2 separate regions of the Homo sapiens genome follow, and region 2 is linked to region 1. The links are contacts of gene promoters, found by promoter capture Hi-C in blood cells and fetal thymus (Javierre and others, 2016). All regions are on one chromosome and are shown on one strand. Each heading gives the region's core, a stretch centred on a gene start or on the middle of the fragment in contact. The rest is flanking DNA. Distances are from core to core; before and after follow the strand shown.

Region 1 (5,990 bases), core at 2,372-4,871:
CCATGCTCAATTTCTGACCTCATTTCTCCACCTCCTCTGTCACCCCTTTCTTTGCTATCTTTCCCACATATAAACCAGTAACCACAAGTACTTGCCATAATAAATGTCAGTGAAGAACAAATAAAATAAAGATGGTAAAGAACATACAGAGTTTTGGTTTTTGTTTGTTTTGGCTAATCTAATTTCCATTGATCTTGATCTTGAATACCTAGTAATCTTTTAGGTTCGTCTAACAATTCTTCATAGGAAATGCAGACAGTGCCTGTCTTGAAACTAGCAGACTGCTTTAAAACTATACGTAATTAACTGTGTGGTGAAACTACCTTGCTGACTAGAAAGTATTTGCCACTGGAACTTCTTAGGAAGAATGGTGTGGTTTGAGATAATAAGAGATAAATGCAGATTTAACCAAAGAAACTAAAAAAGGATGCAGACTAATTTCAAGCTACCTGGAAAAGAGGAGCTATGATAAATCCATGTTTTATCCCAACTGTCTTTAAACATTGGAAATGTTCAGAAATCACCATAAAGTCTTTTCTACAATTATGTAGCAAATGGCTCCAATTTTTCCTTCTATTCCTAACTCTTCTTGAATCGCTTCCATGCTACTGTTGAAAGATGCCAGGCCTTTCTCTTTTTAACCTACCGGAAGATCATTCAGGAATACCCTAGATCAGTCTTGCTCTTGATAACAAGACTATATCTAAACCCAGGTAACAGTCCTGAAGCAGACCGAATCCTGCACCTATTTGCAAAGAGCCAAACTCATCCCTTAATATGGAGAAGGACCAATGTATGGAGCTTTTCCTTTCCAGGCCCAGAGCAATTGCTAGTGCCAAGAAATGTAATAGTTATGGATCAGAAACAAGCCTTTGCAAGAACATTTCTATAGAGCAATATCTGTGCCAATTTTTTGTGGAAGGATTTGGCCTTCTTAGCATCTCAGTCTTGTCGTAAATATAATGTTAGATGTAACGCAGCCAAACATATTGCTTCCACCTCTAAATATAAAGTGGTGGGGGGGGGGCATAGAATTGTTTTGGAGATTAAGTGAGCAAAAGGGAAAAATGCTTAAAAGAAGTGCCTAAACACTGCTCTGGATCATAGCAAATGCCTGAAAAATACTTGGTTCTTGTTTTCTTCCTTCTGTCCTTTGTTCCCTCCCTTCCTCTTCTTGTCTTTCCTCCCTCCTTCCCTTTCTCCTCTCTTTCTCCATCTATCCCTCTCCATGTTGTTCTCTGGAAAAAAAACAGATTATTTTGGTCTTTATTTTAAAACGAGATAGAAGCAAGTGTAATTGTGTGAACTCTCATATTCTCCATGATCTTCTTTTGCCTTTTTTCAAATATTTTAAAGATACATGTCACATATTTAAAGAAAAAAGTTTTATTGTTAATAAAAATGTGAACAAATCTTATGTAAAACTGCTTTTGTTATAAATCTGACTTAAATATTACAAAAAATATCAAACTGAAGGGGCAACTTTGTAGAGATAGAATGTTTCGTAATGAGAAGTTATGGGGTAAAGTGGTTCAGCAGATTCAAAAACTCAATTTAAGTGCTCTCTACTGGGGCAAAAATAAAAGTTCTTTTTGTTCCTAGTTGTCACTCATTTTCTCCCACAGATACTGGCATCTATGTGGGAGAGAAGGAAGGATTTCTGCTATCTGCATCCCCTACCCCATATCTCTTTGGCTCTCCAGTTTATGTTCTTCCTTCTAGAATTCCATTTCAGAATAAAAATTTATTAGAGCAAATGTAAGAGGACAGAGTGAGCTGCATTACTTAGTCACACACCCCAACTCTAAACCAGCATTGCATAATCCCTTTTAACTTACTTCCCCTTTCCAGGGCTGAAAGCCAGAATTATAAAGAGTTGTGAGTGGGTTGCATAAGTATGGTGATGGGAGGCAAATAGTTCTGCTAGCCTTCCGGCCCTACCAGTAAGCAAAGTTTAAGAGTAACACACAAGTCTCACAAGAAATTATTTTCACCCCCAAATTAGCCTCAGTTTGGTCATGGCAGCAATTCTTTCTCTGAGGGGTGCTCCATTCTTAGGACACCTGGGTCACTACCCTTTCAACCTCCAACTCGCCCATTGAAAACTGGACTGCATCCAAACAAACTAAACAGCGTTCCTTAGGGGCAGCTGCTCCATTGCTACTTCTCTCTTTTTAGATTATTGTTTAGAGTACTTGTTTCTTGCTGTCCTTATTTCCTTTTGCTAAACATATCACTTTTCACATAATTAAAGATTTTTCATTTATAAGAGGTTACATATTCCAATAGAAATGCCACACACAGTAGGTACTGCTAATCTCACAATTCCTAGAAGACTCATTTGGCCTGAAGATGTTTTGCTTCTGCTTAACTTTGATGGATTAGGAATTCCCCAGCTTATAACCTATCAGAGTAATGTACCATTTACCTCCTAAATTCTCTATCCCTTTCTCCAGGCTATTATAATCACTTGAATTATTTCAATGAATTAATAAATCTCATTCCTCTCTATTGTTCACTTGCAATTGAATCTTTCCAAAGACCACCATGATTTGATTTTGTTAGAGTAAAAGGGAAATTTTTTTCATTGCTGTGTATTGCTGATTTAGCACATTCCTCATGCTCCAACAAGGTCAAAGAGACACTACCACATGCAATTCCGAATGAATCAACTTTACCGTTTCATTTAATTATCTTCTTCCTTGTTTTCTTTACAGTTATTTACTCAAATTAGAAAACATCCAAGCTGTATGCACACTGATTTTACTTATAAAATGCAAACTTTAAAAGCAAACATTTGGTTTGAGTAAACAAATGTCTAAAACTAACCATCGTGAACAAAAGACATAGTGGTAAGTTTCCCTCCTAAACGTAGATTATTCAATTATGAATGGCATAGACTTCAGCTCAAATTACAGAAACACTAACTCTACAGTGAGTCCACCACCACCTTAGATAAAACTAAAATTTATTTTTCACCGCAATTTTCAAATACCAAGTCTCCAGGATTGTGACCTTTAATTTGCAAATGTTAAAAGTCTTTATATGAATAAAAAAAATCACATTTGAATAAATATACTTAGTGAAAATCAATGATGGGCAAAGTGCTTTTCAAACAACTGAGAAGCAGTGTTGGAAAAACAGTCTCAAAGAGCGGATGGTACTGTCAGTCCACAGTTGGGAAATCCACCCTGAGCAGCTGAACAGCCTTTTTCCTAGGAGTCAGTACAATCTGTTATGCACCCCGCCCACTGTTTTTAAGCCCAGACACAGACAACAGCAGAGACAGATGTTGAAATTACACTCCACTTAAACAGTATCCATAGTTTAAAACATCTCAACAGCAGCCCCTTTGTATCCTGCCATAATTAGTCACTTGCTTGTAAACTTGCCGGAAAGAAACATACCTTTCACACTGGGGAGAAATCCTATGGATGCTCGACCACTGGTCAATTAGCAGTGGAAGAAAGTGGATGGCTAGCTGTCTTAAAGAGAAAAGTCTCAGCTCGGTGAATCTCGATTCTTTACAAGAAAAGGGGATGCAAAATAAGTCCAACCATTCCACAGAGCAGTACTGACAAGTCCCTTTGAAACCTTCACCACTTTTACAAGTCAAAAAGCTGCTCAGCTTAGTGTCACAGCAGCAGCTGAGACTACTGTGACGTCAGTTACTTGGAGGCGGCCTTCAAGCCACCTCTTCCAACCAGAGCTCTGTAACTTTAGAGCAGCTCATGCTCTGGGTAAACAACTCCAGGTCCAGGACATTTTTAGCTTTTATAATGGAGCCCAGTATTTTCAAACTTGCCAAAAGAGCTGGTTGTTAACATCATACAATGACAATGGCCAATTTTAGATTTATTTTATTAGGAAAGTAAACTCATTTTTTTATAGGCAAGAATTATCTCCCTCCTTCCATAATTCTTTCTCCTTCTCAGCTGGTGGCAGGATGTACTCTGCTGCACCTTTAGAAGTTTGCATCTGGATGTGGCAGAACAATATGTGTAGCATAATTATATATATTATGCACTCTCAAAAGATCTGTGAAAGTTATCAAACTTCTATCTTCAAATAAAATAGAAATGGAACATAAAGTCCAACCTCTTAGCTCTCTGTGATTCTGACAGTGTGTTGCTTTTATCTACAGTAGTAGCGATGTCTTTACGTTAGAGAAAATCAGAGCCCATGGGAAAGGATGAGATTTCTTATTGTGGGAGGACAAAACACACACACACACACACCCCAAAAATGAGATACCTATGGGCTTATTTTCCACTAAAGTGTGCTGCAGCCATAGGAAGAGAAAGCAGCCTAAGTGTATGGAAAAGCTCTCTAAATCATGATCAAATCAGCCTGTTCTGAAATGCTAGGAGATCTTGCCTCCCCAGCGACATTTTCAGGTTTATTGTGGCTTTGTACACACATGCATCTGATGATATTTGGTTTAATTTAGTCAAAAAAGTCTCTAGAGCAATTTTTTGCCTAACTTAGCAAATACACAAGTTTAAACAATAAGGTCTTATCTTCAAGTCTGAAGAGCTTCCCTGGTGTGGTCTTTAAAGTAATACATATTCACTCACATTATTTTCACCTGCTTCCAGATAAACATTTCATGAGGAGCTAAAGTTTAGTAATAGTAACCTGCTCACAGTAGGACTTTAATACATGTAGGACAATCAAATGAAACCATACTCTGTGTCTGGAAAGCCTGACATCATAATCTCAACAGCAATAACAACAATAACAGTGATAGTTATAGTAATAATAGTGATTATTCACTGAGGGGCAACCCTCTGCAAGGTTCTGTGCTAAGTACTTTGAACAGACCTTTATCTGAGTTCACCCTCAGAGCAATTCTGTCTCTAGATACTGATAATCTGATCTTACTGATAAAACCCAAGCAAGGCTCATTGTGGTAAAGCATCATGCAAAAGTTCATAGAAATGCACCCATGTGGAGGAAACGGGTTTGAACTGTTTTGTCTGATTGCAAACCATGGAATTTTGTCATAGAGATCTAAGTTTCAATTCTGCTGCCACCACTTATCTGTGTGATCTTGCAGACCCTGATTCTTCCTTAAAGACATAATTATATTTACTTTAAGAGGCCATAAGAATATGAGGGAATATATATAGCGCCAAGCACACAATAAAGGGTAGCTCATGTCTGCCTCCATGCTTATGAGGCTAGGAAGAAGATTCTTTGAGAGAGGGAAAGGGAGGAGGGAGTTGCACAAAAACATCAATACAGAATTGTCTTAACATTGTTTCTGGCCGGGTGTGGTTGCTCACACCTGTAATCCCAGCACTTCTGGAGGCGGAGGCAGGTGGATCACATGGGGTCAGGAGTTCGAGACAAGCCTGGCCAACATGGTGAAACCCTGTGTCTACTAAAAATAAAAAAATTAGCCGGCTGTGGTGGCTCAGGCCTGTAATCCCAGCTACTAGGGAGGCTGAGGCAGGAGAATTGCTTGAACCCGGGAGGCAGAGGTTGTAGTAAGCAGAGATGGCATTCCTGCACTCCAGCCTGGTTGACAGAGCAAGACTCTGTCTCAGAGAAACAAAACAAAAAACATTGTTTCCTTTACCTTTTCTTCTACTCCAAACTTCTTAACTTCTATGTATCACTTGTAAATCAAACTAAGACTATTTTGTAAATCCTATCGAAAATTCAGATAGTATGTGTCTAAGTTACAAGAGATGTTAGGTTGGACTATACTTCCTAAGTGTCACTCAGTAGTACCCATTTCAATCTCTTTTAATGGCTGTCCCAGTGTGATTGTCCCAGGGCAATCACAAATAATTGCCCTATGTTTTAGAAAGAATTATGTCATTCATACCTGATGACATACTAATTTATTTCAATGTATATCAGATTCAAGTGCTTCATCTGCTTCTTGTCATGGTAAAGCTGATCTTAAATTGTACACAGAATCAAATAATAATGAAAATCTTTGACAAAAAGTTTACTCCAAGTTTACCACTTATTCTAGT
Region 2 (5,949 bases), core at 3,122-5,621, 870 kb after region 1:
GTGAGTGTCGTTCTCCTTCATTGTAGGCAGCTGAAGTCTGGCTTTTTCTCCAGGGTCGTGATCTGAAGAGTCCACTATCATATAGGAACCTGAAATGACATTACAAATAATAATGCTAAAGAGATATATAAGCAAAGGGAACATATAACAATAAAAATATGCTAATCCATTCTGAGCATTAAATTTAAGTTAAAAAGACTGTTTTCCAGAACACAGCCACAGAAATACATCAATCAAATAAGTAGATGAACTGAATTCTTACTAGGTAACAGACAGTGTTCAAAGTACACATTCTGTATCAATTCATTTAGTCTCCACAACAACCTGTTATTATCCTATTTTACAAATTAGGAAATTGAGGCACAATTAGTAACACTCAAAGCTGGGTTCAAATCCAGATCTCACTCTAAATCTCTGGTATTACTGAACACAAGTCTTTTAATATAATATATATATATATGTATACACACATACACAAAAGCGATACATTATTGGCCTGGTTTACACAAAGGGTACACCTTTATTTTTCGCTATCCAGAATATTATTGCAGGGAGATGTGCTTAGAGTGCAAACAATGGAACCATTTCTAATTTCGTATTGGAAAATCATCATTTATACAAGTTATGTGATCATTTGTAACATACTAACTTTGAACCTCAGTTCAGGGAATGAGGACACTTTGTAGTGTCAGTATGAGGGCTAAAGTTAAAAATGCCTAGAGCTGAGGATCAGGACACAGCAGATTTCCCCACTTGGAGTCTCACCCACTAAGGTGTCAGCTAATCACCACTGCTACTGGCCCCAGTTCTGTAACAGTCCCTAAACTCTTGTAGAGCTACAAGAAACCCAGTTTAAAATCACCAATCTACTCTATCCCTTTGACTTAGTAAGTGTTCATTGGTTATCTGTCATGAGGAGGCACAGGACATAGAGTCCCACTCTCATAGCTCACATATAGACTTTCCATTGCAGACAAAGGCCACACAGAGACTAAGTACAAAAATGAGACTTGAACAACGGGCTGCTGCTTTTAGTCCCAGAAAACTCTCCAGTAAGACAACCAATTGTTCTCATGTCATTGTGGATTTTAACAAAGACACATATCACAAAAATGCAAATATGCCTATTTATTACACAGAAGATGGAACACAAATTTTATTGTAAAATATCTTTTTTCTTTGCTAGCATGTAATTTTAACCAAAATATATCAGATGTAGTGTTATAAAACTCAGTGTTATAAGAGTTGCACTTGACCCTTTCTTCCTGACAACATGTAAAAGTAATCAATCTTCTGCATTCCCTCCCCAAAATTTGTACCCATGACACATTAACCACTCAATAACTACTAGTCTAACTTGTTCAATTAACCCTCAACAACAGATGCAAATCATGGCAGAGAGGATGGTGTCAACTATTTGAGAAGCCAAATTTCAAATGTGACCGATTGCCACTGAGTGGTAGGTAGCCTCTGGTTGAGAGCTTTTGGGAAGATTTCTGTAACACTTCAGTATAATCGAAGTACAGAATAAACAGATCATAGTGATAGTGGCTGATATTATTGTTCACTTCTTTTTCCTAGTTATCATCTTCTCTTGTAAGCTAGGATTCTTTTTTTTTTCTCTCTTTCTTTCTTTCTGAGTCTCACAGACGGCACATTAATAGAATAAACTGTCCGTGTGTATTTTGGAGAAATTATGTCTTTATTTTTAAAAAGGATATCCTGGATCCCAACCCAATTTATAGAAGCAGGATGTTTCTATTCTTTATTATATTCACATTCTGAAGTCAATGGTTGATTTGGCAAGATGTCTTTCAGATTTGCCACTGCATAGCAGACCAATCATTCCTTTCAACGAGGACCAGCCCTGAGATCTTGGATAAGTTACCTAGTGTTTGTTACTGGGCCTCAGCATCTTCACAAACCTGTAGCCTATTTCTCCACTACTATAACAGTTCCACCCCCTCCCCTCAGTGGAATATTATGGCAGTAGTGCATTTAAATTATTTTTAGAGGTCTGTATCAATTATGGCTTCTGAATGTCAACTTTAAAGTAGTAATCTCTAAATGATTTATTGGCTTTCTAATAGTCATTTTTTCCTATTATAAAATAAACTTTGGAGTAAAAATATGCTTTGTGTCACATTTTAATTATATAGCATAATATTTACTATAAAGACCATTTAGGAATTTTCAGTCAGTTGTACCCTTAAGCTACAATAATTATCTGTCTTATTAGGGAAACCGGATGGGCAAGGTATATTCATTTGTAGGCATTATCAATTTGATCACTAGGAAGACAAAAGTCACAAAATAAAAGCTTGTCTACACTATTTCAACATTTCAAGCAAGTTAAATAATAAAGAAAAATAGTGTTGATAATTCATCTCTATAGAATGTTTCCGCTAAATGGCCCTCTTTCAATAATGCCTGACTACTGCCACATTCTCCGAGTGCTCTGGAATAATAATGCATTTATTGCACAGTTCCAGAAAGGAGGAAGAAAGCACTAGCACCAAAAAGCCATCTAAATCTTTCTGCCTACTGACTTGATATAACGGCAATTTACCCAGTAGGCACTAGGGAGGAAGCTGCCTGTCTGAAACAAAATTCCCTTCCATCATCCCAAACACAGAAGATACTGTGCTATTCTTATCAACATCTAAAAATCACTTCTGTAGTCTCCCAGAATAACTGGCTCCCAATCCTTACACTTGGGAAATTATACAATATGTACTTCTCTCATACTTTATGTTATAATTTAAGCTTATTTACGATTGTTCTGTTACCAGCTAACTAATTCCTCAGATTTCTAACAAGAGTTTAGTTATCTCAAGGCTTAATAAAACATCTATGTTCCCACACATACAATGTACTAGCTTTTAATTAAAACTTCTTTAAAGTGGCCTTACAAATATTCCTTACAGTCTCTTGATCAATAGAGTTCTCAAATATATCATTCAACACAGAGAAAACTATATATGCTTTTTGTTTGTTTTAAGTGCAACCTTTATAGACAGCAATTTGACATAAAAGACCTTTAAGAGATATTCATGAATAAAACATCAAAAGCAATTGCAACAAAACCCAAAATTGACAAATGGGATCTAATTAAACTAAAGAGCTTCTGCACAGCAAAAGAAACTACCATCAGAGTGAACAGGCAAACTACAGAATGGGAAAAAATTTTTACAATCTATCCATTTGACAAGGGAATAATATTCAGAATCTACAAGGAATTTAAACAAATTTACAAGAAAAAAACAAACCCATCAAAAAGTGGGTGAAAGATATGAACAGACACTTTTCAAAAGAAGACATTTATGCGGCCAACAAACATAAAAAAAAAGGTCATCATCACTGGTCATTAGAGAAATGCAAATCAAAACCACAATGAGATACCATCTCACGCCAGTTAGAATGGTGATCATTAAAAAGTCAAGAAAAAACAGATGCTGGAGAGGATGTGGAGAAATAGGATGTTTTTACACTGTTGGTGGGAGTGTAAATTAGTTCAACCATTGTGGAAGACAGTGTGGTGATTCCTCAAGGATCTAAAACTAGAAATACCATTTGACGTGTCAATCCCATTACTATGTATATATCCAAAGGATTATAAATCATTCTGCTACAAAGACACAGGCACACGTATGTTTACTGCAGCACTATTCACAATAGCAAAGACTTGGAACCAACCCAAATGTCCATCAATGGTAGACTGGATAAAGAAAATGTGGCACATAAACACCATGGAATACTGTGCAGCCATAAAAAAGGATGAGTTCATGTCCTTTGCAGGGACATGGATGAAGTTGAAAACCATAATTCTCAGCAAACTATCACAAGAACAGAAAACCAAACACCACATTTTCTCACTCATAAGTGGGAACTGAACAATGAGAACACATGGACACAGAGAGGGGAACACACACCAGGGCCTGTTGGGAGGCAAGGGGAGGGAGAGCATAAGGAGAAATACCTAATGTAGACAACGGGTTGACGAGTGCAGCAAACCACCATGGCACATGTATACTTATGTAACAAACCTGCACATTCTGCATATGTATCTCAGAACTTAAAGTATATTTTAAAAAAAGAGATACATACCTTCTGATCTGGGAATTCCATGTCTACAAATGTATACTAAATAAACCATCAGGTATGTATAAAAGATACAGCTTTAAAAGATGCCTAACTCATTACACTATTTAAAACAGAGAAAAATTAAGTATTCTCAATATTCAATAATCAGTAATTTGCAAAATTACAGCAAATCAATTTAATGAACAATAATGCAGTCATTAAGAATAATATTATTTTAAAACATTTTATGGAAGATATTTACAATATGTTAAGTAAAATATGCAGGTTATAAAATATTAAACCCACTTATGAAAAATACATATTTGTGTTAAATAATTATATCTGTGTAAATGTGTGTATATTCACATATGCACACACATACACTTGTACATATGACTGGAAAAATATGTAGCAAAATCTTAACGGTATATTATCTGGTGGGCTGTAATTGTCTTCTAGGTTTTCAAAAAAGTTTTTGCATATGTACAGTTTCTGAGAGTTCTATAATGAATAGGCATTAGATTTGCACATTTTTATTAAAACAGAGACTACATGAATACTATCTTACAAGAGGAAAATCAAATGAATAATGATAAATAGTAAATAAACACAAGCGTGTTTTTTAAATCTTTTAAAAATAAATTCTATTTGTATTTATAGGATACAAATAGGATCCTATAAATAACTAAATATTTCAAAAAACACAATACAAAAATTGAGTACTTCTTATTCCAATTCATTAAAAAAGAGAAAGGCAGAGAAGACTTAAAACAAATGACAGTTTTTACTAAAAAGAATGGGCAAGGAAAATAACATAATCTAGTATATAGATGAATATGTAATGCCCTATGGATTTTATACATTAATTATTTTTTATCTTTAAGTTACACTTCTATGAATAAGGTATTTACATGGGAAATTGGATCAATAGCAAAGAAAATAATTCATGATAAATAGATTTCCATACTTTCTTCTAAAACTCCTTTATATATGTATGTGTTGGTATACTTTAGTACACTAACATAATATTTGTATTGTCAGTTCTTATTTAAAATCTGTTGAATGTGCCCTATAAACTAAAAGCAAAATTTCAATTTCTTTGCCTAGTATTCACAACTTTCCATGATCTTATCCCAAAGTAACTGGTCATTTTACCTCCCACTTCTCTTCACAAACCACCTTCTCCAGTCTGACAGACCCCTCATTATTTTCTCCACACATCATGCCAGTTTTCTGTCCTCAAACTGTCTCACAGTTTCTAAATGTCTGATTCTGGCCCCCAATTATACATTGCTTTTGTGCCAATTTTAAATGATTTACTGGGATATCTCTTGTCAACCTCAGAAGGGTAATTTTGTTCTCTTAGAAAGCACCTGAATTATTCAGAGTCCAATCAGAAGAGAGAAGCCACACAGTAAATTTAACAGTGAAAATGTAATATAAAGAATTACTACCTATAAGAAGATAGAAACTTTAACGCTGTGAAGAAAACCTTAAAGAACAATCAAAGTACCCAAGAAAGAAACCAATATAGACAGGGGAGGTTGCTGAGAATCAGATTTCCTTAAAGAAGGTGCAGTTGCAGCTCACGGGAAGATAAAGTCTGCTGGGTCACTCAGGCCAGAGCCAATCCTGCTCTAGGGAAGCTAGGGAAACAGGACACATTCTCCCTGCAGCAGAGTGGCATGAGGCCTGGGGTATGTGTGTGCCACAGCAAGGCAGTCACCAGGCCAGGTTTGTTGCTACAAGCTCACTGAGGGACTATGTCTGCTACATGCACACAGCTCCGTCCACTGTGCAGTACCACCAACTAAAAACAAACTTAGGATCACAATTCAACCAAGAATAGATGATCCTTCTTTCTTA

What was found. The method cuts DNA at HindIII sites, captures the fragments that hold promoters and counts their contacts. A CHiCAGO score of 5 or more calls a contact.
Region 2: a fragment that was not itself captured here is called in contact with the fragment with the promoter of KIAA0408 in region 1 in 1 of 17 cell types (total CD4 T cells); the score reaches 6.1 in total CD4 T cells.

The regions. Positions count from the first base shown.
Region 1 is chr6:127,455,768-127,461,757 of GRCh38, forward strand. It overlaps KIAA0408, which reads right to left and starts at 3,622. Exons shown (of 6, transcript NM_014702.5): 1 at 3,408-3,622. The region is part of intron 7 of SOGA3-KIAA0408 (SOGA3-KIAA0408 readthrough); the gene reads right to left. The HindIII fragment of the contact is 12,466 bases long and covers 1-5,990 here.
Region 2 is chr6:128,322,222-128,328,170 of GRCh38, forward strand. It overlaps PTPRK (protein tyrosine phosphatase receptor type K), which reads right to left. Exons shown (of 30, transcript NM_002844.4): 3 at 1-89. Among named protein-coding and RNA genes, the nearest start is that of PTPRK, 200 kb to the right of the region's middle. The HindIII fragment of the contact is 3,214 bases long and covers 2,765-5,949 here.